Linked DNA regions of Homo sapiens: region 2 is linked to region 1. Evidence: promoter capture Hi-C in human tissues and cell types (Jung and others, 2019). All regions are on one chromosome and are shown on one strand. Each heading gives the region's core, a stretch centred on a gene start or on the middle of the fragment in contact. The rest is flanking DNA. Distances are from core to core; before and after follow the strand shown.

The links. Contacts are between HindIII fragments. The study calls those that stand out against the background at their distance.
Region 2: a fragment that was not itself captured here is called in contact with the fragment with the promoter of HEYL in region 1 in 4 of the 25 tissues and cell types used here (IMR-90 fibroblasts, aorta, ovary and 1 more).

Annotation. Positions count from the first base shown.
Region 1 is chr1:39,636,782-39,643,172 of GRCh38, reverse strand. HEYL (hes related family bHLH transcription factor with YRPW motif like) reads left to right here and starts at 3,530. Exons shown (of 5, transcript NM_014571.4): 1 at 3,530-3,627. The coding sequence starts at 3,548. RefSeq lists silencers at 3,174-3,563, 3,684-3,753. The HindIII fragment of the contact is 11,489 bases long and covers 1-5,745 here.
Region 2 is chr1:39,578,511-39,584,901 of GRCh38, reverse strand. No RefSeq gene overlaps it. Among named protein-coding and RNA genes, the nearest start is that of PABPC4, 4.9 kb to the right of the region's middle. The HindIII fragment of the contact is 4,000 bases long and covers 2,598-6,391 here.

The DNA.
Region 1 (6,391 bases), core at 2,281-4,780:
TCAAAGGTGCCCAGGTTATTACAGTTGTTCTGTGTATAGGGCATGGTAAGCAGTTGGCATTTTATTTCAAATGGGATGTGAAGCGTGTGGATGGTTTTGAGCAGGAAGTGACATGATCTGACTGGCATTTTAAAAGGATCATGACCAAGTCCTTGAAACACTCTTTTGGCTCCTGCCCACACCCCCCCACACACACCCCACTCTCCTCCACTGCCCTTTCAGTCTTCTCTGGCAGCTCTTTCTCTTCTACAACCTTTAAATCTTGGAGTTTCTCCAGACTAGCGGTTCCCAACTGGGGGCGATTTCTCCCCCAAGGGACATTTGGTATTTTATCTGGAGATATTTCTGATGGTCACAACTGGAGCGGGTATAACTGGCATCCAGTGGATAGAGGCCAGGGAGGCTGCTTACCATTCTACAATCCACAGAACAGCCCTACACAATAAAGAATGACCTGACCCAAAATGCCAGTAGTCCTGAGGTTAAGAAACCCTGCACCAGATTAGCACCATCCAATAGGAATATCATGGGAGCCAAATATGCAGTTTAACATTTTCTAGTAGTCACATTTTTAAAAACCTAAAAATAAAACAAGGGAAGTTAACTTTACTAATGTATTTTATTTCATCCAATATTTATACAATATTATCATTGCAACATGTAATCATAACAAAAAATATCAATGAGATAGTTCACACTTAAAAAAATTCTGGTGTGTATTTCATACTCACTGCACATACAGCAATTCAGACCAGCCACATTTCAAGTACTTAATAGCCATAGGGGGTTCGTGGCTATTATATTGATGGCATAGCTCTAGGCTCAGTACTGGATAATATATCACAATGTTTAAGAGCTGTATAATTGACGGGGTGTAGTGGCTTACTCCTGTAATCTTAACACTTTGGGAGGCCAAGGTGGGAAGATTGCTTGGCCCCAGGAGTTGAAGACCAGCCCGGGCAACATAGTGAGATCTCATCTCTACCAAAAAAAATTTTTTTTTTTTTTTTTTTTTTTTTGAGACGGAGTCTTACTCTGTCGCCCAGGCTGGAGTGCAGTGGCGCCATCTTGGCTCACTGCAAGCTCCGCCTCCCGGGTTCACGCCATTCTCCTGACTCAGCCTCCCGAGTAGGTGGGACTACAGGTGCCTGCCACCACGCCTGGCTAATTTTTTGTATTTTTTAGTAGAGATGGGGTTTCACCGTGTTAGGCAGGATGGTCTCGATCTCCTGACCTTGTGATCCGCCTGCCTCAGCCTCCCAAAGTGCTGAGATTACAGGCGTGAGCCACCACACCTGGCAAAATGTTGTTTTTTTAATTAGCTGAGCATGGTGGTATGCCCCTGTAGTCTGAGCTATTCAGGAGGCTGAGGTGGGAGGATCACTTGAGCCAAGGAGTTCAAGGTTTCAGTGAGCTACGATGGCACCACTACACTCTAGCCTGGTGACAGAGTGAATCCTTGTCTTTATTTTTAAAAGAAGGGGGAGTACTGTATAAAGTAATAAAGCCTAATGTTTTGGCTCTGGAACTGAACTGCCTTGTTGAATTCCAGCCCTTCCATTTATTGCCTGTTGGCCTTAGGTGGAGTTAGTCTACCTCTCAGCCTTTGTTTCTCACTTGTAAAGTGGGGATTATAATATTACTACTTTATAGGGTTGTCAAGGATTAAATGAGTTAATATTTACAAAAGACTTAGAATAGTTTCAGGTTTTATAATAAGGGCTCACCAAATGTTAAGTATTTAGCTAGGCCCCTGCTCTGTCTCCATCCACGTTTTCTGAATGATCCCATCTGCTCCCATAGCTTTAAATGCCATCAATTACCTAATGACGTCCAAATTTAATATCCAGCTGAGACCTCTGTTCTGAACTCCATACCCTCTATTTAACTGTGCACTGTATTTTGATGATCCAAGACATCTCACATGAAACGTCCATCACGGGGCCCTTGACCTTCCCCTGCAAATCTGCTCCTCTTCCAATCTTTGCTATCTCAGCCAATTACACAGGGCAGCTATCTGGGAGGCTTCCTTGACTTCCGCCTTTCCAGGGAATGCATAACACATTGTGCAACTTCTCTGTTAGTTGAGGTTTCCACTGACTGGCATGTGCCCACAGAAGTGATGTGAGTGCTGAGGGCATTTGGAATGAGAGTCCATAGTTGTGGCTGGGGCGACCACCAGGGCTTCCTGGTACTGATTGCTCACGACAGTTGCGCCTACCAGTATATATTTGTAAGTCTGTCCGTGTGTATGTGTTTGCATACCTGGCCAAATGGTTGTGTCTGTGGATGTGTGTGGACGGGGGCACAGGAACATTCTTTCCCATCAAGTAATCAAGTGTCCCCCAGCAAGCAGGCCTTGCTGTGGGGATGGAAGCACAGTTATTCTCAGATGACCAACCCGATTCTCCCACTTGAAGGGGTGGCTTCCCTCAGGTCCTGACCTGGTGGCGGGTAAAAAGGAAAAGACCTCTCATATCTAACCCAGCACACCAAGACCTCCTCTATCTCCTCTTCCCTGCCCAAGAAGTCCAGCTCCAGGATGCTCTCATGCAGCTTCCTTTGGAGCCTTAGGAGCTTCTCTGAGGTACTGGGCGCCTGAGGATGACCGGTGAATCTGAGAACTTCCCACAAGTCCCCCTAAGGACAGGGCAGCTAGAGCCCTCCCTGAGTGAACAGTTTGATGGGTTGCCAGAAGCAGAGGCCCCAGGAAGAGAGGCTGGAAGGTATCTTCCCTTTTCCTCTCCTTCTCCCACTTTGAGGCCCTGCCATAGCGTCTAGAAGGAGCCCTTTCCTGGCCTCCTGGCCGCCCAGGACAACTCGACCTCTGGTGAACTGGGAACTGATTCCCAGGGACAACCCACCACTGCCACCACGCCAGGCCTTTAGGGACCTCGGCCAGAGCCCAGCTTTCTCAGATGCGGTGGCCACAACTTCAGCCGTCCCTTTTGGGGGTGACTGCCACCTCTCAGAAGTGTAAGTGTCTTCCCCTTGCCCCCACCACACTATTCCACTTGCTTTGGGCCCCTATGGAGTTGCTGCTGGGGAATTCTTGCTGAGGATCAGGCCACAACCACCACGACTAACTTCGACAAACTTGATGTGTCTGCTGCCTCCAGAACACCAGGAGGCAGGAGCGCGCAGGGTTGACCCTTGCGGAATCCCGGGCATCGAAGCGGCGCCTCTACAGGCCAGCAGCGCCCAGGCGACCCAGGGACAGACGGGGACTCCTGGCTTCCCCGCGGGGCCTCCCAGGGCACCTGCCCAAGGCCACCCAGCGCGCGGCAGCCGAGACAGCGGAGCAGAGCCGGACCTCCCAGCCGTCGATGAAGGCGGCGACCGCCTAGGGCCTTCCCACGGCTCGGCGGCGCGTCACCGCGGGGGCGAGGGGGCGCCTGGGCGCCCGGAGCTGCGGCGCAGGAAAGGGCCCTGGGAAAGGGCGGTGGCGGCGCCCCCGAGGCGGGGCCGGGGCGGGGCCGGGGCGGGGCCTGACTTCCCGACTGGGAGCCTTAGCCGCGGGGCTGAGACCAGGCAGCCTGCGTTCGCCATGAAGCGACCCAAGGAGCCGAGCGGCTCCGACGGGGAGTCCGACGGACCCATCGACGTGGGCCAAGAGGGCCAGCTGAGGTAAGGGCCGGGATGCGGGGACCGAGCAGGCGGAGGGCGAGCGGGGTGGGGGTCGGCCCGACGGGCTCGCCGAGCAGGCGGGCCAGCCCTCCAGCACCGCCTGGGCAGAGGCAGGTGAGCGCGGGGGCCACAGGTGTCGGCGTAGGGGGCGTGTGCGGGCCGTGCCGTTACACGCACGAGTGCCTGGATCCTGCGCGCTCTCGGTCGTGCAGGGCTGGGGATGCTGGCAGGGAGGGAGAGTTCAGCTCGGGGGATCAGGTGGCTAGTGGGTTATCATCTATCTGTTGAAGTGGCCTAGGGGAGGCCATTGGCAGGTTTTCCCTGGAGATCTTAGAAAACTCTCATAGACTGATGGTACTCTGGCCCCTGTCTGGAATCTGCTGACGATGCAGAGTAACCCCATCCTTTCCCAATTTTACCCTAGTTTGGATGCAGTTTTCATGTAGTCCACAAATTATTTCAGGAAGAAGAAAATTTGTCCTCCTTTGAGCAAATTGGAGTTTGGATTTAGGGACTTAGTATTGAAGAAAATAATAAGCGACTTGCAAGGGCCTAGACTCTAATTCCAATGTTCCTCCTATCGTGCCCCCATACTGCCAGTGTCTTTCAGCTCCTGGTAGATAGTCTGACCTGCTTCAAACCTGTCGAACAAACTGCGCTTGTATAGTTCTGCTACCTCGCAGTTCTGTAAACTGTCTAAGCTTCAGTTTCCTTATCTGTTAAATGAGCATGAATAATAGAACCAACTTCATGGAAATATTGGGAAAACCAAATGAGGCAAAGTATGTCAAGGGCTTAGCACAGCACATGCCTAGGTACACACCATGTGATTCCCAGCACCCTGAAAGAGCTGCAGGGCTGACTGGGAGTCTGCAGACCTGGGTCCCAGCCCCAAATCTGCCACCAACTCACTATGTGGTCTTGGGCCATTGGTTTCCCTGACAGAGTCTGTCATCAGTTTCCCCATCAGTAAAACAAAGACAGCAGTGGAAAAGAAAGGGATATACTTCATCTCTCTTGGCTCATCTAGACTTGACTCTCTAGAACAGAATTGGAGGGGAATTCAGTTAATTCTTTCTTTCTTTCTTTTTGACATGGTCTCACTCTGTTGCCCATGCTGGAGTGCAGTGGCATGATCATAGCTCATGGCAACCTTGATCTCCTGGGCTTAAGTGATCCTCCTGCCTTGGCCTCCCAAAGTGTTGGGATTACAGACATAAGCCAGTGAGCCAGGCCCAGTTAATTCTTAGGGATGTTTTTGAGGACATTTTGTAATTTTAGTGCTCTCCAGTTTTCTGAGATCCAAGGATCCTGCCTCAGTCTCAAATCCCAGGAAAATGCCATAATAGATATTCCTCTTGCAGCCTGTACATTTGTTTTTAGGGAGTATAACACAACTCGCTATGCAACGTATTAGCCTTTCTTAATTGTTTAGCAGAAACTGCTATTTAGAAAAGCAGTTATCTTAGCCTGTGCCTGTTAAGGGCCAGGAAAGGGCACAGCACCACGTGGTGGTGGTGGAGCGGGGTCTCAAATTCAATGGCATTGGGTCTTCATAGATCAGAGGCACAAAATTGATGCCAGAGAACTAGGTTGATCAGAGCTGGCTTCTGTCCTCCACAAGTTTGCAGCCCAGTCAGTGACCTGCCAGGTCATAAAAACACCATGGACAGGATGGAAAGGAGACAGACTGTGGGCTGTGAGGGCACTTAAGCAAAGAGAGGTCACTCTTAATCAAAGATGGCAAGGAGGGCTTCTTGAAGATAGTAGCATCTGGGCAACTGCTTACATGAGGCATAAAGGATCAGTGGGCAGTTTTTTCCTATACATACAGCATTTCCTATATATACAGAGCCCATTTTTAGACACTGTTCTTAGAGGAGCAGACCCCTCTGAGGAGAGAAAGCAGCTGGACATCTGGCAGAGGCTGACTTATAGATGCCCCTTTGTAGCACTCACCAAAGGGCCCTTCCCCCAGCAGACATCAATGCTTCAATTCAGGGAGCACTGAACGATGCCTGCTGTGGCCCAGACCCTGGGCTGGGCATAGGGGGCCCAGATGTATCCTGCTCAGCCTCTGCCCTCAGGGAACTCTCAGGGAAGAAGAGCTTCATGTACAAAGAAAGCAGATAAACACTGACAAAGGCCGCAGGACGGAGGCAGCCAGCCTCTCGGGGTCAGGGGCAGGGCGCAAAACCCCCACACTCAGAAACGTGAGAGTAAAGAGCAGGGTGTGTTCCACCATCACTGTGGCATCTGCCTGGTGGCAGTCCTGCCACATCTGTGAAACTCACCCACAGAGCTCTCATCTCAACCTGGCCCCATGACGCAGGATGAGTCCAAACTGAGAGTACAGCCTCTCCTCTCCCTCTGCAAACATCTAATGAGCACCTGCCACATGTCAGACACTGGATCAGGGTCCTGTTCCTGCACAATATAAGGTGGTGGTCTTGGAGTCAGATAGACCTGAGTTTGAATTTTACCACCATTAACTTTGGCCAGTGACTTTTACCCCTTTCTGAACCTCAGTTTTCTCGCGTTCAAAATGGGAATACATTAGCACTCCTGCCTCGCAGGATAAGGTTTGATGAAGTAACATACATAAAGTTACATAGCTCCCTGCTTTGGCACAAAGTAACTTCCAATAAACGTTGCTGTCAAAGCGGTCACCATTCAGTTGGGGGGCAACATATTTATGAGACAGCATGGTCTAATGAAAAGACCGGAAGTGTGAAGACTGGACTTACTGGAGTGATTCTTAACT
Region 2 (6,391 bases), core at 3,348-5,847, 59 kb after region 1:
AATAATGTCTTACTCATCTTTGTAGCCAGTGTTCAGCCTGGGGACTTGAACAGGAGAATAGCAGTTATGATTCTCCTCGTTCATACCCCTGATCTCCACAGATGATGGATTTTCCACATTTGTTTCAGCTTTTAATATCTGGTTCTTGGTCATGCCACACACACATTTAGTCCTGGTTTGAGGTCTGAAAATGATCTTGACACATAGTAGGTGCTCAATAAATGTTGGTGTCTTCATCCGTTTTGTGCTGCTATAACAGAATACCACAGATTGGGTAGTTTATAAAGAACAGAGATTTATTTCTCACAGTTCTGGAGGCTGGGAAACCCAAGACTGAAGGGCCTGCATCTGGCCAGGGCCTTCTGTCATCCCATGGCAGAAGGTGGAAAGGTGAGGGAGTGTGTGGTGGGGAGGGAAAGGGCCCAGCTCTTCCTTTTATCAGGAACCCACTCCTTTGATAACAGCATTAATCCATTCATAGGGGCAGAGCCCTTTTGACCTAACCGACTTTTTTTTCTTTTTTTTTTTTTTTTGAGACAGAGTCTCGCAGTGTCACCCAAGCTGGAGTGCAGTGGCGCGATCTCGGCTCATTGCAAGCTCCGCCTTCCGGGTTCACGCCATTCTCCTGCCTCTGCCTCCCGAGTAGCTGGACTACAGGCGCCCGCCACCACGCCCGACTAAGTTTTTGTATTTTTAGTAGAGATGGGGTTTCACCGTGTTAGCCTGGTCTCTATTCTTAAAAGGACTTACTGAGCTCATCACACAGATGGGAGGCTTGGAGATGTGACAACTACTGTCTACAGTTGTGCAGCCTGTCTTGGTGCTTGGGCCAGACCTCTAGGATTTCAGAGACCCTGTCTCTGGACAAGGAGAGTCTTCCTCCCTGAGTGGCAGAACCATTGCTGCTTACAGGAAATCGAGGTTTTGTGAGGAGAATTGGCCTCCTGCTGGGTGGATGGGGCTGGGGTTTCCTTGCTCTTACCTTCAGATTCAAAGCTTTTTCCAACAACTTACACACACACACTGCTTGTCTCTCTCACTCTCTCCAAGAAGAGGTTGTTCGGTGAACGTTTAGCTCACAGTTCTGTCCCCAGCACCCAGAGCAGAGAGAACCTGGCTCTTAGGAATGCCACATAAGTTTGCTGAGTGAACAAACAAATGATGCCAGAAGGCAAAGCTCTTACATTTCTGCTACGTGTAAAATCCTCAGCTTTCAGGAGGCTGAGGCAGGAGAATTGCTTGAACCCAGGAGGCGGAGGCTATGGTAAGCCGAGTTCGTGCCATTGCACTCCGCCTGGGCAATAAGAGCGAAACTCCGTTTCAAAAAAAAAAAAAAAAATAGCTGCAGAGAGCAGCCTCTATATCCATCTCCCCACCTTGAAGTTCTTCCTTCTTCCTCTTCCCAACCCTGAACATATTCTTTCTCTTGACATGTCAAGACCATCTCTCAAGTATAGACCCACCAAGAATAGGTTCAGTCCCAGTGGAAAAAAAAAAATCATACCACTTCCCACCCCAGCAAGGGCAGATTTGTACTGATGTGCACAAGCCTCCTTTCAGATCACTAGCCTGGTTACTTGTCCAGCCTCTTCCAACCCTACTTTTTGTCCCATGAAGGCCTGTTTAGATTTTGCAGACCTGGAGTCTGGGTGACTCCTCTGGTAGCTTTGCATATCTTTCCCCTCTAAGACTAATTCAGTGATAACCTTGTGTTTAGATGCAAGGAATCGAAATTGTTTTGGTTTCCCAGAAACTTGGGAGCCGTCCTTGACTCCTCACTCTCTCACCTCCTACATCCAATTAATCAGAAATTATACTAAGTATGTCCCTAATTGACACACATCCTCCACCTCCATGGCCACCACCTTAGCAGCCATCGCCTCATAGGTCTCCTTGTACCTATCCTCTAATCCTTTTCCATTTGCAGTCAGACAGGTTTTTTTTTTTTTTTTTGAGACAGAGTCTCACTTTGTTGCCAGGCTGGAGTGCAGTGGCATTGTGTCAGCTCACTGCAACCTCCTCCTTCTGGGTTCAAGTGATTCTCCTGCCTCAGCCTCCCGAATAGCTGAGACTACAGGCACATGCCACCACGCCCAGCTATTTTGTATTTTTAGTAAAGACGGAGTTTCACCATGTTGGCCAGGATGGTCTCGATCTCTTGACCTTGTGATCCATCCGCTTTGGCCTCCCAAAGTGCTAGGATTACAGGTGTGAGCCACCGTGCCCGGCCTAGGTTTTTTAAAAATGTAACTTGAGGGGGCCAGGTGTAGTGACTCAGGCCTGTAATCCCAACACTTTGGGAGGCCGTGGAGGGGAGGATCGATTGAGCCCAGGAGTTCGAGACCAGCATGAGCAACATAGTGCGACCACATCTCTACAAAAAATAAATTAGCAGGGTGTGGTGGTGTGTACCTGTGGTCTCAGCTACTCAGGAGGCTGAGGCAGGAGGATCGCTTGAGCCTAGGAGGTTGAGGCTACAGTGAGCCATGACTGTGCCACTGCACTCCAGCCTGGGCAACAGAGAGAGACCCTGTCTCAAAAAGAAAAAAGTAATTTGGGCTGGGCGCAGTGGCTCACGCCTGTAATCCCAGCACTTTGGGAGGCCCAGGCGGGCGGATCACGAGGTCAGGAGATCAAGACCATCCTGGTTAACACAGTGAAACCCCATTTCTACTAAAAAATACAGAAAATTAGCCGGGCGTGGTGGCAGGCACCTGTTGTCCCAGCTACTCGGGAGGCTGAGGCAGCAGAATGGCGTGAACCCGGGAGGCGGAGTTTGCAGTGAGTGGAGATCCCACTACTGCATTCCAGCCCGGGCGACAGAGTGAGACTCCCTCTCAAAACAAAAAAAAAAAAAAGAAAGAAAAAAGTAATTTGAGCGAAGGCACTTTGCTCTTAAAATCCTGCAGCTTTACTCTTTGATCTGAGGATAAAATCCTAAGTGTTTTAAGGCCATCTCTTTCATTTCCCACAACTCCACAGTTTGTCTCCCTTAGGGCTTTTTTTTTTTTTTCAGACAGAGTCTCTCTCAGTCGCCCAGGCTGGAGTGCAGTGGCACAACCTTGGCTCACTGCAACCTCTGCCTCCCGGATTCACATGATTCTCCTCCCTCAGCCTCCCAAGTAGCTGGGATTATAGGCACCTGCCACCACATCCGGCTAATTTTCTATTTTTAGTAGAGACGGGGTTTTACCATGTTGGTCAGGCTGGTCTCAAACTCCTGACCTCAGGTGATCTGCTCTCCTTGGCCTCCCAAAGTGCTGGAATTACAGGCAATTACAGGCGGCAGCCACCACGCCTGGCACTTAGGGCCTTTATAGATGCTGTTCTCCCTGACTTCATTTAGGGACTCCCCTCCTTTCTTTTTATTTTACTTTTTTTTTTTTTTTTTGAGACAGAGTTTCACTCCTGTTGCCCAGGCTGGAGTGCAATGGCGCAATCTCGGCTCACCGCAACCTCCACCTCCCCGGTTCAAGTGATTCTCCAGCCTCAGCCTCTGGAGTAGCTAGGATTACAGGCATGCACCACCACGCCTGGCTAATTTTGTTTTTTTAGTAGAGATGGGGTTTCTCCATGTCCGTCAGTCTGGTATCGAACTCCTGACCTCAGGTGATCTGCCTGCCTCAGCCTCCCAAAGTGCTGGGATTACAGGCGTGAGCCACCGCGCCCGGCCTCCGCCTCCTTTCTTAGTACAAATGTAGCTTGATAGTAATAGCTATTAACATTCATCCAAGGCTGGGCACATGGTGGCTTACACCTGTAATCCCAACACTTTGGGAGACTGAGGTGGGGGCGGATTGCCTGAGCTCAGGAGTTCGCAACCAGGCTGGGCAACATTGTGAAAACCTGTCTCTACTAAAATACAAAAAATTAGCCCAGTGTGGCGATGTATGCCTGTAGTCCCAGCTACTAGGGAGGCTGAGGCAGGAGAATCGCTTGAACCTGAGAGGCAGAGGTTGCAGTGAGCTGAGATCGCACCACTGCATTCCAGCCTGGGCGACAAAGTGAGACATCTCAAAAAAAAAATTAATCCAAACAATTTATGTGTATTTATATGTATTCATTTATTCTCACAATAACCCTTTTAATTGTTAATAAGGTTTATTAGTATAGTTCAGATGAGAAATTTGAGGGTCAGAGATGTGAACTAGCTTGCCCAAAGTAATATAGGTAATAAGCTCCCCCAATAGACAATAAGCTTCAGGAGGTCAGAGCTTGTGTGGGTTTTGCTCATCTGTGCCTAGTATTCATTTGTTTATTTAACAAATATTTAGGCCAGGTGCAGTGGTTTATGCCTGTAATCCCAACACTTTAAGAAGCCAAAGTGGATCGCTTGAGGTCAGGAGTTTGAGGCTGCAGTGAGCTATGATCAGGCCACTGCACTCCAGCCTGGGCAACACAGTGAGACTTTGTTGCTTAAAAAAAAATACATGCAGTGGCTCATGCCTGTAATCCCAGCACTTTGGGAGGCCAAGGTGGGCGGATCACGAGGTCAGGAGATCAAGACCATCCTGGCTAGCACAGTGAAACCCCATCTTTACTAAAAAATACAAAAAATTAGCCGGGCGTGGTAGTGGGCACCTGTGGTCCCAGCTACTCGGGAGGCTGAGGCAGGAGAATGGCGTGAACCCGGGAGGCAGAGCTTGCAGTGAGCCAAGATCGCGCCACTGCACTCCAGCCTGGGCAACAGAGCGAGACCCAGTCTCAAAAAAAACAAAAAAACAAAAAAAAAAATACACAGGCTGGGTGTGTGGCTCACGCCTGTAATCCCAGCACTTGGGGAAGCCGAGACGAATACATCACCTGAGGTCAGCAGTCGGAGACCAGCCTGGGCAACATGGTGAAATCCCATCTCTACTGAAAATACAAAAAGTAGCTGGGCATAGTGGTGGGTGCCTGTAATTCCAGCTACTTGGGAGGCTGAGGCAGGAGAATCACTTGAATCCGGGAGGTGGCGGTTGCAGTGAGCCGACATCACGCCACTGCACTCCAGCCTGGGTGACAGAGCAAGTCTCTGTCTCAAAAAAAAAAAAAAAAAAAAAAAGGCTGGGCGTGGTGGCTCACCCCTGTAATCCCAGCACTTTGGGAGGCCGAGGCGGGCAGATTACAAGGTCAAGAGATTGAGACCATCCTGGCCAACATGGTGAAACCCCATCTCTACTAAAAATACAAAAATTAGCCAGGTGTGGTGGCACGCACCTGTAGTCCCAGCTACTCGGGAGGCTGAGGCAGGAGAATTGCTTGAATCCGGGAGGCGGAAGTTGCAGTGAGCCTAGATCGCAGTACTGCACTCCAGCCTGCCAATAGAGCGAGAGTTGGTTTCAAAAAAAAAAATAGCCAGGTGTGGTGGCGCATGCCTGCAATCCCAGCTACTTGGGAGGCTGAGGCATGAGAATTGCTTGAACCTGGGAGGCAGAGGTTGCAGTGAGCCGAGACTGCACCACTGCACTCCAGCCTCGGTGACAGAGGAAGATTTCATACCCCCCCCACAAAAAAAACAAGAAAACACACACACACACACACACACACACACACACACACACAAACATATATTGAATATTTATTTATCTATTTATTTTTTAGTAACAGAGTCTCACTCTGTTGCTCAGCCTGGAGTGCAGCGACATGATCATAGCTCACTACAGCCTTCAACTCCTGGCCTCAAGCGATCCTCCTACCTCAGACTCCCAAGTAGCTGAGACCACAGGCATGTGTCCCCACACCCAGCCAATTAAAAGAAAATTTTTTTTTGTAGAGATAGGGTCTCACTCTGTTGCCCAGGCTGGTTTCAAATGTCTGGGCTCAAGCGATCCTCCTGCCTCAGCCTCCCAAAGCACTGAGAGTATAGGTGTGAGCCACCTGCCTGGCCAGTTACTGAACATTTAGTACGTGCTATGTTAAGCACTATTCTAGATTCCTGTTCTCATGAAGCTTATATACCAATGTGGAAAAGATAGATACTAAACAGGTAAACAGATATAGAACAACATAATTTTGGGTAGGAATAACAGGCTTGAAGACAAGAAGACAAGTTGGTGTGATAGTGATTAACAATGTTGACGGCTACTTTAGACCACAGGAGGTCTAGGAAGACTTTCCTGAGGAGGGAATCTATAGAAGGAGCACTCCCATAAATGTTCCTTTTTTTTTGAGACGGAGTCTCGCTCTGTCACCCAGGCTGGAGTGCAGTAGCATGATCTCAGCTTACTGCAACCGCTGCCTCCTGGGTTCCAGCGATTCTCCTGCCTCAGCCTTCCAAGTAGCTGGGACTATAGGCACGTGCCATCATGCCCGGCTAATTTTGTATTTTTAGTAGAGATGGGGTTTCACCATGTTGGCCAGGCTGGTCTCGAACTCCTGACCTCAGGTGATCCGCTCACCTCAGCCTGCC